Linked DNA regions of Homo sapiens: region 2 is linked to region 1. Evidence: promoter capture Hi-C in human tissues and cell types (Jung and others, 2019). All regions are on one chromosome and are shown on one strand. The core of a region is centred on a gene start or on the middle of the fragment in contact, and the rest is flanking DNA. Distances in the headings are between cores, read along the strand shown. Region 1 holds the start of PLXDC2 (plexin domain containing 2). Region 2 overlaps NEBL (nebulette).

Region 1 (5,185 bases), core at 1,789-4,288:
GAGTAATCTACTTTTTCCATTTCACTCTGAACATACTGTCCTACATACATTTTATTTATTCGTTCCTTGCTACAGTGTAAAGGCAGAATATACTTTAAAAAAATAATCATTCATCAACATTTAAGGCAAATGATCAGAGCTTGAGTTTATTGTTATACAATGTTGCTCTTTCTTCTTTATTTCTGAACAGCAAATCTCATCAAGCATGATTGAGTTTTGCTTACTTGTATCTTCTCCCTTACTTCCGCATTTACTATGTGTATAGCTCTTCAGAATAAAATTAAGATAGGAGTAAACCAATACAATTCAGCAGCATCAGTGACATAACCAAACATATAAAAGTCCTTCCTGACTGACCCTGAATGACCATTTACCCCCTTTCAAATTTTGACATCAAATTTCTACTTACAAAAAGTATATAGTTTCAATCAGGTGGTCAAAGCATTGATGACCGCAAGTAACAAGAAAAATGAACCCTGCGAATACGCACATAAAATAATAAAGGAAAAAAGAAAGAAAATGATAGCAAGGAGAGGTGGAGATTTGCTTGTTCTCAGAGGAGGAAACACCTATTTTTCTACTGTGAAAGAAGGAGAAATAACTCGGTCTGAAAAAAGAGGTGCTTTCTTGAAATGGTTTCCGCTGGATTCCCCATTATTTTAGATATGATGGGAGCTGGAGTTGTGCAGAATATTTTGGGACGCTTTCCGCATGGATTTATGATCCTCAAAAAGAATCGGCATCAATTAAACTATAGTTGACCCTTGAACAGTATGGGGGTCAGGGGGACGGACCCCCACACAGTAGAAAATTAATGTATAATTTCGACTCCTCATAAACTTAACTGCTAATACCCTACTGTTGATTAGAAGCATTACTGATAATATAAAAACAGTTGATTAACACATATTTGGTATGTTCTACATATTACATACTGTATTCTTAAAATAAAGTAAGCTAGAGAAAAGAAAATGTTAAGAAAATCATAAGGAAGATAAATATACTTACTGTTTATTAAGTGGAAGTGGATCATCAGAAAGGCTTTCATCCTCATCGTCTTCACATTGAGTGGGCTGAAGCGGAGGAAGAGGAGGGGTTAGTCTTGCTCTGTTAGGGGTGGCAGAGGAGGAAGAAAATCCATGCAAAAGCGGATCCTCGCAGTTCAAACCCCTGTTGTTCAAGGGTCAACCGCACAATCAGGTTTTGATGAGAAGACTCAGTTTTCAAACTTGATTTTAAGCAGGTATATATCCGGGTACTCAAATTCGGATGTAATATTACATAGAACTTAAACACTCCTAGTTAAGCAGAAATAGAAAAACCCAGTTACCTAAGTAGAAATCAACCTATGGGAGGAAAGCTCAGGAAAGAGCCAGGGTCCTGGCATAATAAAGAGTATAGGCATGATATATGTTTGTGTTTATACGTGTATATCTGTTGTTTGGAAATAAAGAGCAAATTGAGTATTGGATTAAGGGAAACCTTTCTTGTTTCCCATGAGAGAGCCGTCCTTTGAGCATCACATTTGCAAAGGTAGATTGATTATCCGGATCCACTTCCAGTGGGTTTTGTGGCAAGCCGAGACATCTATTGACAGCATCCATAGACTCTTCAGAGCTTGGAGTGGAAAGGACCTTGAACTTAGAACACATGCACATTTATTATGTGATTGAAGTCGTCTTCTCTCACTTTTGCTTCAGTAAACACTTAAACAAAGCCATGTACTTTGCGGTAGGCAATGTTCTATATTTATTAAATATACAGTTAACTCATCCAATCCATTGCAACCACCTTATAAGGGCGTTACTCTAATTCTCTCCATTTGATGGATGGATAACTGAGGCTAGGAGATAAACTGCTCATTGCGGGGGAGGTGAAATTCCAGCCCAGGCTGTCCGGGCTCTAGATCCTGTACTTTTAACCAATAGCGCTTTGCTTCTTTTCCTTGTATTTATCCCTTTCAAAAATGATTAACTGTATGCAAAATAAGATATCAACTAACGAGAGGGCCGGCAAGGGTTAACGCGGAAACAGATCCCCGAGCTGAAAAAACAAAAACAAACTGGGGAGCCAGAGCCCCTGAAAGCTCCGGTAGGAAATTCAATGGGCCTCCTGTTCCTTTAAACTCTCGCTTTCGCCCCCGCTGACACTTTGCAAAGCCGCGGCGGCAGCGGCGGGGACCACGCTGCGGTGCACCACCTTCCGCCACCCTCCCGCGCTGGGCTGGGGTCGAGGGGGCTTCGCAGAGTCGGTAACCGAACCGGCTCTGGTTTGCTTTCTCCACTCCCTAGCCACTACCAGAACCAGCCTCCGCGAAGGGGCGAGCTGTGGTTAACCCTTTCGTGCCCAGGGAGACCCCGCCAGGGTCGGGGCGGGGCGCGATCGCCCCCCGCAGTCGGGCGCGAAGGCGGCCCGGGAGCCAGGTGGGTGTGGGGCGCAGTTGGCGGAGCTGCCCAGGGCGTGCGAGCAGGCTGCGAGGATGGCGCCCCGGCGGCGCGGAGGTACCGCCCCGCGCTCCCCCGATAGCTCCCCGGCCTGTCCCCTCTCCCCGCGCTCTGGGGCAGCCGGCTGCCTGGGGCGCACGGGGCTGGAGTGGCCCTCTCCCTCCCCTTCGCTAGGCTCCCCCGGCTTAATCTGTTGGCCGCGACTCCTCAGCCAGCCCCGAGGAAAGTGCAGCCATTGGACAGGTCTGTGCGGGCTGCCGGTTTCAGGGAGGAAGGTGGGAGAAGCCTGGAGGAGCGAAGGGGAGGGCGGAGGGAGGAGGGAGGAGGGTGCGGCGGCAGATCTGGCAAATTGCGAGCTGCCTTCCCTCCTCAAAGTGTGGAGAAGGAGCGCGGGGGAGCGTGGCGACGGCAGCGCCTCCTCCGCCACCAAACTCCTGGGGCTCCGCGGGGGCTTGGGGCCACCTCCTCCTGAGCCCGGAGGAACCCTCTCCCGATAGGTTCCAGCGTGACTCCCTCCCACTCCACCCTTTTCCTTTCTTCTTCCTCTTTTTTTTTTTTTTTTTTAAACACATTTTTTTCCTGGCTTCGGACCTCAGACTGCTGCAGCCCTAACCTTCCCAGGGCTCAGCTCTTTGGAGCTGCCCATTCCTCCGGCTGCGAGAAAGGACGCGCGCCCTGCGTCGGGCGAAGAAAAGAAGCAAAACTTGTCGGGAGGGTTTCGTCATCAACCTCCTTCCCGCAAACCTAAACCTCCTGCCGGGGCCATCCCTAGACAGAGGAAAGTTCCTGCAGAGCCGACCAGCCCTAGTGGATCTGGGGCAGGCAGCGGCGCTGGCTGTGGAATTAGATCTGTTTTGAACCCAGTGGAGCGCATCGCTGGGGCTCGGAAGTCACCGTCCGCGGGCACCGGGTTGGCGCTGCCCGAGTGGAACCGACAGTTTGCGAGCCTCGGCTGCAAGTGGCCTCTCCTCCCCGCGGTTGTTGTTCAGTGTCGGGTGAGGGCTGCGAGTGTGGCAAGTTGCAAAGAGAGCCTCAGAGGTCCGAAGAGCGCTGCGCTCCTACTCGCGTTCGCTTCTTCCTCTTCTCGGTTCCCTACTGTGAAATCGCAGCGACATTTACAAAGGCCTCCGGGTCCTACCGAGACCGATCCGCAGCGTTTGGCCCGGTCGTGCCTATTGCATCGGGAGCCCCCGAGCACCGGCGAAGGACTGGCGGGTGGGGTAGGGAGGTGGCGGCGGCGGCATGGCGAGGTTCCCGAAGGCCGACCTGGCCGCTGCAGGAGTTATGTTACTTTGCCACTTCTTCACGGACCAGTTTCAGTTCGCCGATGGGAAACCCGGAGACCAAATCCTTGGTAAGTAAGATGCACTTTAGCTTGCTGATTTTGTGCGCAGCTGAAGACCTCTCTGGCACTCTCGTGCTCCCTACCCTCTCCCCCCAACATCACCTATCTGCCCTTGGGAAACTTATTGCAGTTGCTTTTCGGCTAAACTTAGGCTTCCCAAATGGGGAAAGAGGGTTATCAAGAGAAGGACGCCGGGGACTAGGGGTTTTCTTGAGGCTTTCGGGCTTACTTCACCTGGGCGGCAGGGGGTGGTACTGTCTCCCCAAAGTAGCCCAGGGAGGGCTTCAGTGTGAGAGCAAAGCTTCTTCCGTGGATACATCTCCTAGGACCTGGCATCTCCAGGCTGTGTGCTCTCCGGCTCCTCCTCCTTCCTCGCTGCTGGTTAAACTAAGCGTGTGTGGTATGGGGTGGGTGGGGGACGTTGTGAAAGCCAGGGATTGCAGGTCTCCCCTCTGCACGAGAAAATTCCCTGTGGCAGCACCTTCCTTCCCCTGGCGATCCCCACTAGCTCCGTCTAGTGACCTGGGCCAAGCGGGCGCTGGAAGGGGGGCGGGGTAAATGCGGCCGGCGCAGAGGTGGGGAGCAGGTGGGAAAGGTGGAGGCGGGCTCGCCTCTGGAGACCTACCCCTGCTCCCATTGTCCTCCGCCTGCCAGCTTCACAGACAGGCCTGAACGCGCAGAGAGTTCCTTGGAGTGCCCTGATTTTGTCCCCGAGAGGGCCCCCAACCTCCGCATCCTCTTAGTGGCTGTCCTGGCAGGTGCGCGTCCTGCGGGGAGTTGCGCCCCGGGGGCTATCGCCGAGCGGGAGCTGCCTCCTGGAACCCTGCCCACCGCGAACTGGGTGCCTACTCCCCATTTCTGCCTTTCAGTGAAGAAAGTGAAGACACAGGCAGAAAGAGATCTTGGCAGAAATTGGTGAACTAGGGTGGACTTCGAGAGGAGGTGAAACGAGAGAAAAAGAAAAAAGAAAAAACTTGGAGGGAAAAGAAAAGAAAACGAAAACTTTCTCCCTAGGATAATCAATTTGTCAATTTGTTCTTTTCTGGTGTGTGTGTGTGTGTGTGTGTGTGTGTGTGTGTGTGTGTGTGTGTAATTTAAATGATTGCCCGGAAAGTATGCATGCGTCCTCAACAGTCAACTAGAGAGTCACAGATGGAAGGTTGGGGGACACCTGGGGATTCCAGGCAAGGTGAATCTTGAAGATCTTGAAGGAAACCCTTGAGTGAAATTTACCAAGCCGCGACTTAGAAGACAGTCACAACACTTCGCCTGTCCCTGGTGTAAACTGTTCTAGATAAAGCACAGATACTGACTCTGCGCTCTTATTTATGGTTGAAGGGGTGTGTGTGTTGGGGTGTATGTGCAGGGAGGCAATAGGATGACAACACTTTTAAAG
Region 2 (5,185 bases), core at 1,372-3,871, 1.0 Mb after region 1:
ATTCTTCTTCCATAAATTTTTGTGGTCACTACTTCTCCCACATCCAGCTTTGTTTACAGAATATGGGACAAGTATATTTGACAAATCTAAATTTTACCAAGAAAACCTCACTGTTCCCTTAATTTTTACCTAACACTAAACTTCACTTTATACCTTGTGCAGCTTTAGCCACTGTTAGCTTTATTTGGAACTATTTTAATATTAATATTCATTATGAAATGGTTAAAAGACAAAACGTTTGTAATTTATTTTTCTGTAGTATTAGCAAAAGCATTTGAGCCAAGTGTCCAATAGGGTCAAAAAAAAAAAAAGAAAGAAAGAAAAGGTTAAAATATCCTTGGGCTGGGCACAATGGCTCATGCCCACTGAGGCAGGAAGATAAGCTTGAGCCCAGGAGTTTGAGGCTGCAGCAAGCTATGATGGTGCCACTGCATTCCAGCCTGGGTGAAAGAGTGAGACCTCCATCTCTAAAATTTAAAAAAAAAAAAAAAAAAAAAAAGGTTTAATGTCCTTGGACTCAAAACAAGGAGCCCCGACAGAGAGGCTGTAGCTCTCCATAATGTCTGTTGCATTGAATCTATGACTGTTGTCCTATTAATTAGTACGGTTAATCAAGTTTGGCCAATGGTTTCTTAGTGAAAGAGTACACTAGCTCTGAATGCAATGCCCTCAGAAAGATATCATTCATAGAGACATACAAAGCACATGGCAACATGACATTGGAATACACGATTCTGAGCATCTTCATTCATGACCAACCTGGCTATAGATTTCAGATGTCCTCTTGGCTCGAAGGATATCTGGGATATCCATGCTCACTTGCATTCCTTTCCCTTTAATTTCATTTTCTAAGTCCTTCTTGTATTGTTTCTAAAAGAACAGAAAATAATCTTAGAGCTTTGCTTAAGCTTTAATAGCGATGTTGAAATTTACATGTTTGAATCTCAAAGCCACCCATGTGGAAAGAAAACTTATGCTCTTTCCAGCTATGATTCACGGCATTTATTTTAAACTTTGTATCTTGCTGCTGTCTTACCTGGCTGGCCATCTCGGATGCTTTCTTAGCTCTCTGGACATCAAGAGTGTCTGTGCTCACCTGCATCCCTTTCCCTTTAATTTCAGTCTCCAGATCTCTTTTATAGTCTTTCTGCAGAAAATGAAACATACAGTTAGTGCTCTCCAATCATTTGAGAAACTGCTCAAAAATCGAGATGTCATTTTGACATTAAGACCATGTCTTTTGGAATGAAGTTGAATCCTTATTTCTTTTATTTCTATAGAATAATAGAGTTTTTACTTGTGGTAGGAATACGACTTAGTATAACTTATTCACCAGTAATCAGAACAATTTTTTTCAGCTAATCTGAATTAAGAAGAAGAAAAAACACAGCTAGCCAAGGGGAAAATTTAACATTTCAATATGATAAACTTGATATATTATTGGGTCATATATGGCTTAGTTAAGTGTCAGTCAAGAGTGATTGTAAAATTGCTGTTTTTCACTCTGTAGTGAATAAGTGTTGGTTGCTTCTCTGGAATCCACCCCTTTTTTCCCCTTCATTGGCTCCCTAATTTGCCACTAGACAACTCAATGTTCCCACTCCTAAACCATCCAGCTTCGGTGAGACTGGCTCAAATCTCTGGACTTAGCTGGGCTTAAATAAATCATTATTCCCTTCACTGGCTCTCTGATTTGCCACTGGACAAGTCAATGTTCCCCACTCCTAAACCATCCAGAAACTGGCCCAAGTCTCTGGGATCTGCTGGACTCAATAAATCATTATACCCCATCACCCACACTGCAGAATTGGTTCTGGGATGCATGCATCTTTTTTTCCATATAAGAGCTGCTGGAAGCCTCTTTGCAAACAAGAATGTCTACCTAAGAACTGCAAGCTGAAACTATATCTCATTATTTGAGTCCTAGATCAAGCCGTGCCTAGGAATTTCTCTACTATTCAATCATAAGAACAACAAATAAGTTATCTCTGTTTTTTTTTTAAGCCAGTGGGAAATGGATTACCAATTGCTTACAAGATAGTCATAATTACATAGACACACATGTCTTTAGGGACTTCTGTCACATTTGAAAACTGATTATAAAATTCAGAAAGCTGTACATATATAAATTTGCTTTTTCTATATGTATATTATTCTTCAAAGAAAAATGTTATTAAAAAAAACTATTAACTATAGCCAATTAAATTTGCTTTAAAACAATTATTTCTTATTATGCTGACACACTCCAGATTTGTAGATTCTCTGCTGCAAAGTAAATGTTGATTTGCTTATTAGGAGATCCTCAAATTTAGGTAAGTGGTAAACAAAAATCTCAGTCTTGGAGTATTTTGCCTCCTATCTTCCACTCATAATCCTTCCTGTTTTTACTGACTTACACTCCCAGTATCACTTTTCTAAATAAAAGTTTACATAATTATGTTTAACTTTCAAAATATTAATATTCAATTATTACTATGTCTACAAAAAGCACTCTGTTTTAGTCAGCCTGTTCAAAGCCCCAAAATGAAATGTTTCATTTGAAGGCCAACAAATATGATGAAACTGAGGCACTGATAACAGACAGCCACCAAGGTCTGATGGTAAAAGGATGTAACAATTTTTTAATATGAACTTTCAAATGTAAATGTGTTCTAAAGCACATAGACTACATTAGACACCCTTTGCATCAGTTATTTGTTGTCTGCATAACAAAACACACCAAAACTTAGCAGGTTTAAAACAACATGGCGGCATCTACATTCCAAGAGGGCAAACCCTAATGCAGAAGTGTGTTTATAGTCTGAGTCACATTTGCTGATGTCTCATTGGCTAAAGAAAGTCACATGGTCAAGCCCAGAGATATGGGAAGGCTTGACTCTTGAGGGTCATTTGTGTCACAATAAGATCCATTGACTTTATTTGAAAAATAAACTTTTGATATTAAAAATAAACTATGGCAAAGTCCCGAACATTGGTTGAAAATGATCTGAGCCTGTCATTTAGGCAAAATGGGACATGACTATGATTATATGCAAATGAGATTTTTATTATTATTATTTGGGGGGTTTTTATTGACTAAGATTCTCAGCCTGAGAGTGGAGACTTCACCAGAGCCACGTGAATCAATTTACACTGGATGTGACTGGAAACCATTAAAGAATTGCATGTGAGGAGAGTAACAAAATTTCATTTAATTGCCTCAAGGATTCTTCTCCTGCTGGGTTAAGAATGTCTACTAGGACCCTGGAGGCAGAGCTTGCAGTGAGCCGAGATTGCACCACTGCACTCCAGCCTGGGCGACAGAGCGAGACTCCGTCTCAAAAAAAAAAAAAAAGAAAAAAAGAATGTCTACTAGGAAGGCAATAATAGCAGAATTCTGGTTAGGAAGCTATGGCAATGATCTAGAGGATAGAGATAGTGGCTTAGGACTAGGGTGGCAAGAAAGATGGATTTAGACCACCACTATGGGGGTGGCATCAATAAAGTATGCTGATGACAGGAATCAAAGTGACTTCTATGCTTTGGTTGGCGCCATTTGAAGATTGGGGAAAGCTAACCTAGGGGAAAATTAGGGATTCTAGTTTTGGCCTGTAACGTTGAGATCCCATTATACATTTCCCTTGCAGACAACAAAAGATAAATGGTCACATATTCACATCCATGTTACAGAACACTTAATTTTTCTATAAGAATGAGGTAGACCTATATGAAGGAACATGGAAAAAAATCCTTAATATAAAGTGAGAAAACAATCAACCACTTAAATGGGGTCTGACCCCATTTAAGATTTTTTTAAGTCGCTGTGTGTACATGTGTATGTTTATCTATATAAACACAAAATAGATTTGGAAGGTTCCATAACAAACTTATAACAATGACTATCTCTCAGGACGAGAACAGAAGTAGGAAAGGGATAAAGCAGGTTTTCAAGTTCCTCATGCTCCTGGCCGTCCACCCCTGGCCACCACTTCAAAATGGAACACTTATTGATCAGGAAACCTATACCATCTCCACTTCCTTTGTCTTATTCAATCATGGCAATCCCATTTCCCTGGCCAGTGCCTAACTCTGGGGATGTCAGTCATTTTCAAAACAACAGTAACTTCCCTAGCAGCTAAGCAGCTACCTCTGGCCTTCCAGATTTCCTGTAAGGTGTCAGTCCTGAGTCAGCTCTTCCTAAGTGCAAAGATCACACAACAGGTCTCAGGATACTCCACTGAAGCCCCCACCTAACCAACCTTGAGATAAGTGAACAGGACCCCTTCACCTGCACCCCGATTTTTTCTTCACATACACTTTTTATAAAATCATCACATCCCAAAGCTTCTTTACTCCAGTGATCCTTTTATATTCTCAGATTTTCTGGGGAAGTTCAAGAGGTGTAGAGAAAGTTCTAGGGTATTTCCTTTGAAAAATATGCATATGGTCTGACTCCTACAACCTTGTGATGTGATACCCAGCCTGTCACAGAATTTAAGACAAAACTTCTAAATCAATATCCTGTATCCCATGAAGAAAAAACTGGTGTTATCAGATGAATGAACATGGTCGTTCAGGTTATATCAGACCTCCATCCAAAATGCTGACTGTGTAGAAATTTCATGCGTGCTGATCATGTCAACAAAGGCTATTTTAAGAACATGCAATCAGACAGGAATGACTATTGTTCTCATGTAAAGTGTCCATATATGAAGTTCTGCTCAGAAATTTGGAAATACAGATATGCCAAGCAGCACATGATCCATTAAAAAATACCATGAAAACATTTATCATAGCCTAGATTACCATTAAATCTGTTGTATTCTGAAATAAGGTGTGCAGGGGAGTGCATGTGTGCATGTGTGTCTGTTCAATTAAAATGCCTTCCACCAAGCTTTCTTGATATATTGGAAGGATATGAGCAAAGCAAAAACTGTAATTTTTCAAACTGGCATAATGCTTCGGAATAGTCTCCATTCCAAACTGTTAAACCAGCTGCAATGCTTTGAGAAATTCCATATAGTAATCAAGTTGCTAATACGATTTGTTAGGTTCCAAAATATGAGTCTTAAGGCCTGCATCACGCACCCTACTAACCTCACTCGCTATCTCTGCAGCCTTCTTGGCATGCTGCATTTCAAGGGTGTCAGTGCCAGCTTGCATTCCTTTCCCTTTAATTATTGACTCCAGGTCTTTCTTGTATTCT

What was found. Contacts are between HindIII fragments. The study calls those that stand out against the background at their distance.
Region 2: a fragment that was not itself captured here is called in contact with the fragment with the promoter of PLXDC2 in region 1 in 1 of the 25 tissues and cell types used here (lymphoblastoid cells).

The regions. Positions count from the first base shown.
Region 1 is chr10:19,813,394-19,818,578 of GRCh38, forward strand. PLXDC2 (plexin domain containing 2) reads left to right here and starts at 3,039. Exons shown (of 14, transcript NM_032812.9): 1 at 3,039-3,798. The coding sequence starts at 3,687. It overlaps LOC124902388 (a long non-coding RNA gene), which reads right to left and starts at 2,835. Exons shown (of 2, transcript XR_007062078.1): 1 at 1,009-2,835. RefSeq lists an enhancer at 1,963-2,728. The HindIII fragment of the contact is 14,250 bases long and covers 1-5,185 here.
Region 2 is chr10:20,830,437-20,835,621 of GRCh38, forward strand. It overlaps NEBL (nebulette), which reads right to left. Exons shown (of 28, transcript NM_006393.3): 14 at 5,077-5,185; 15 at 1,037-1,147; 16 at 760-870. Among named protein-coding and RNA genes, the nearest start is that of NEBL, 64 kb to the right of the region's middle. The HindIII fragment of the contact is 3,953 bases long and covers 646-4,598 here.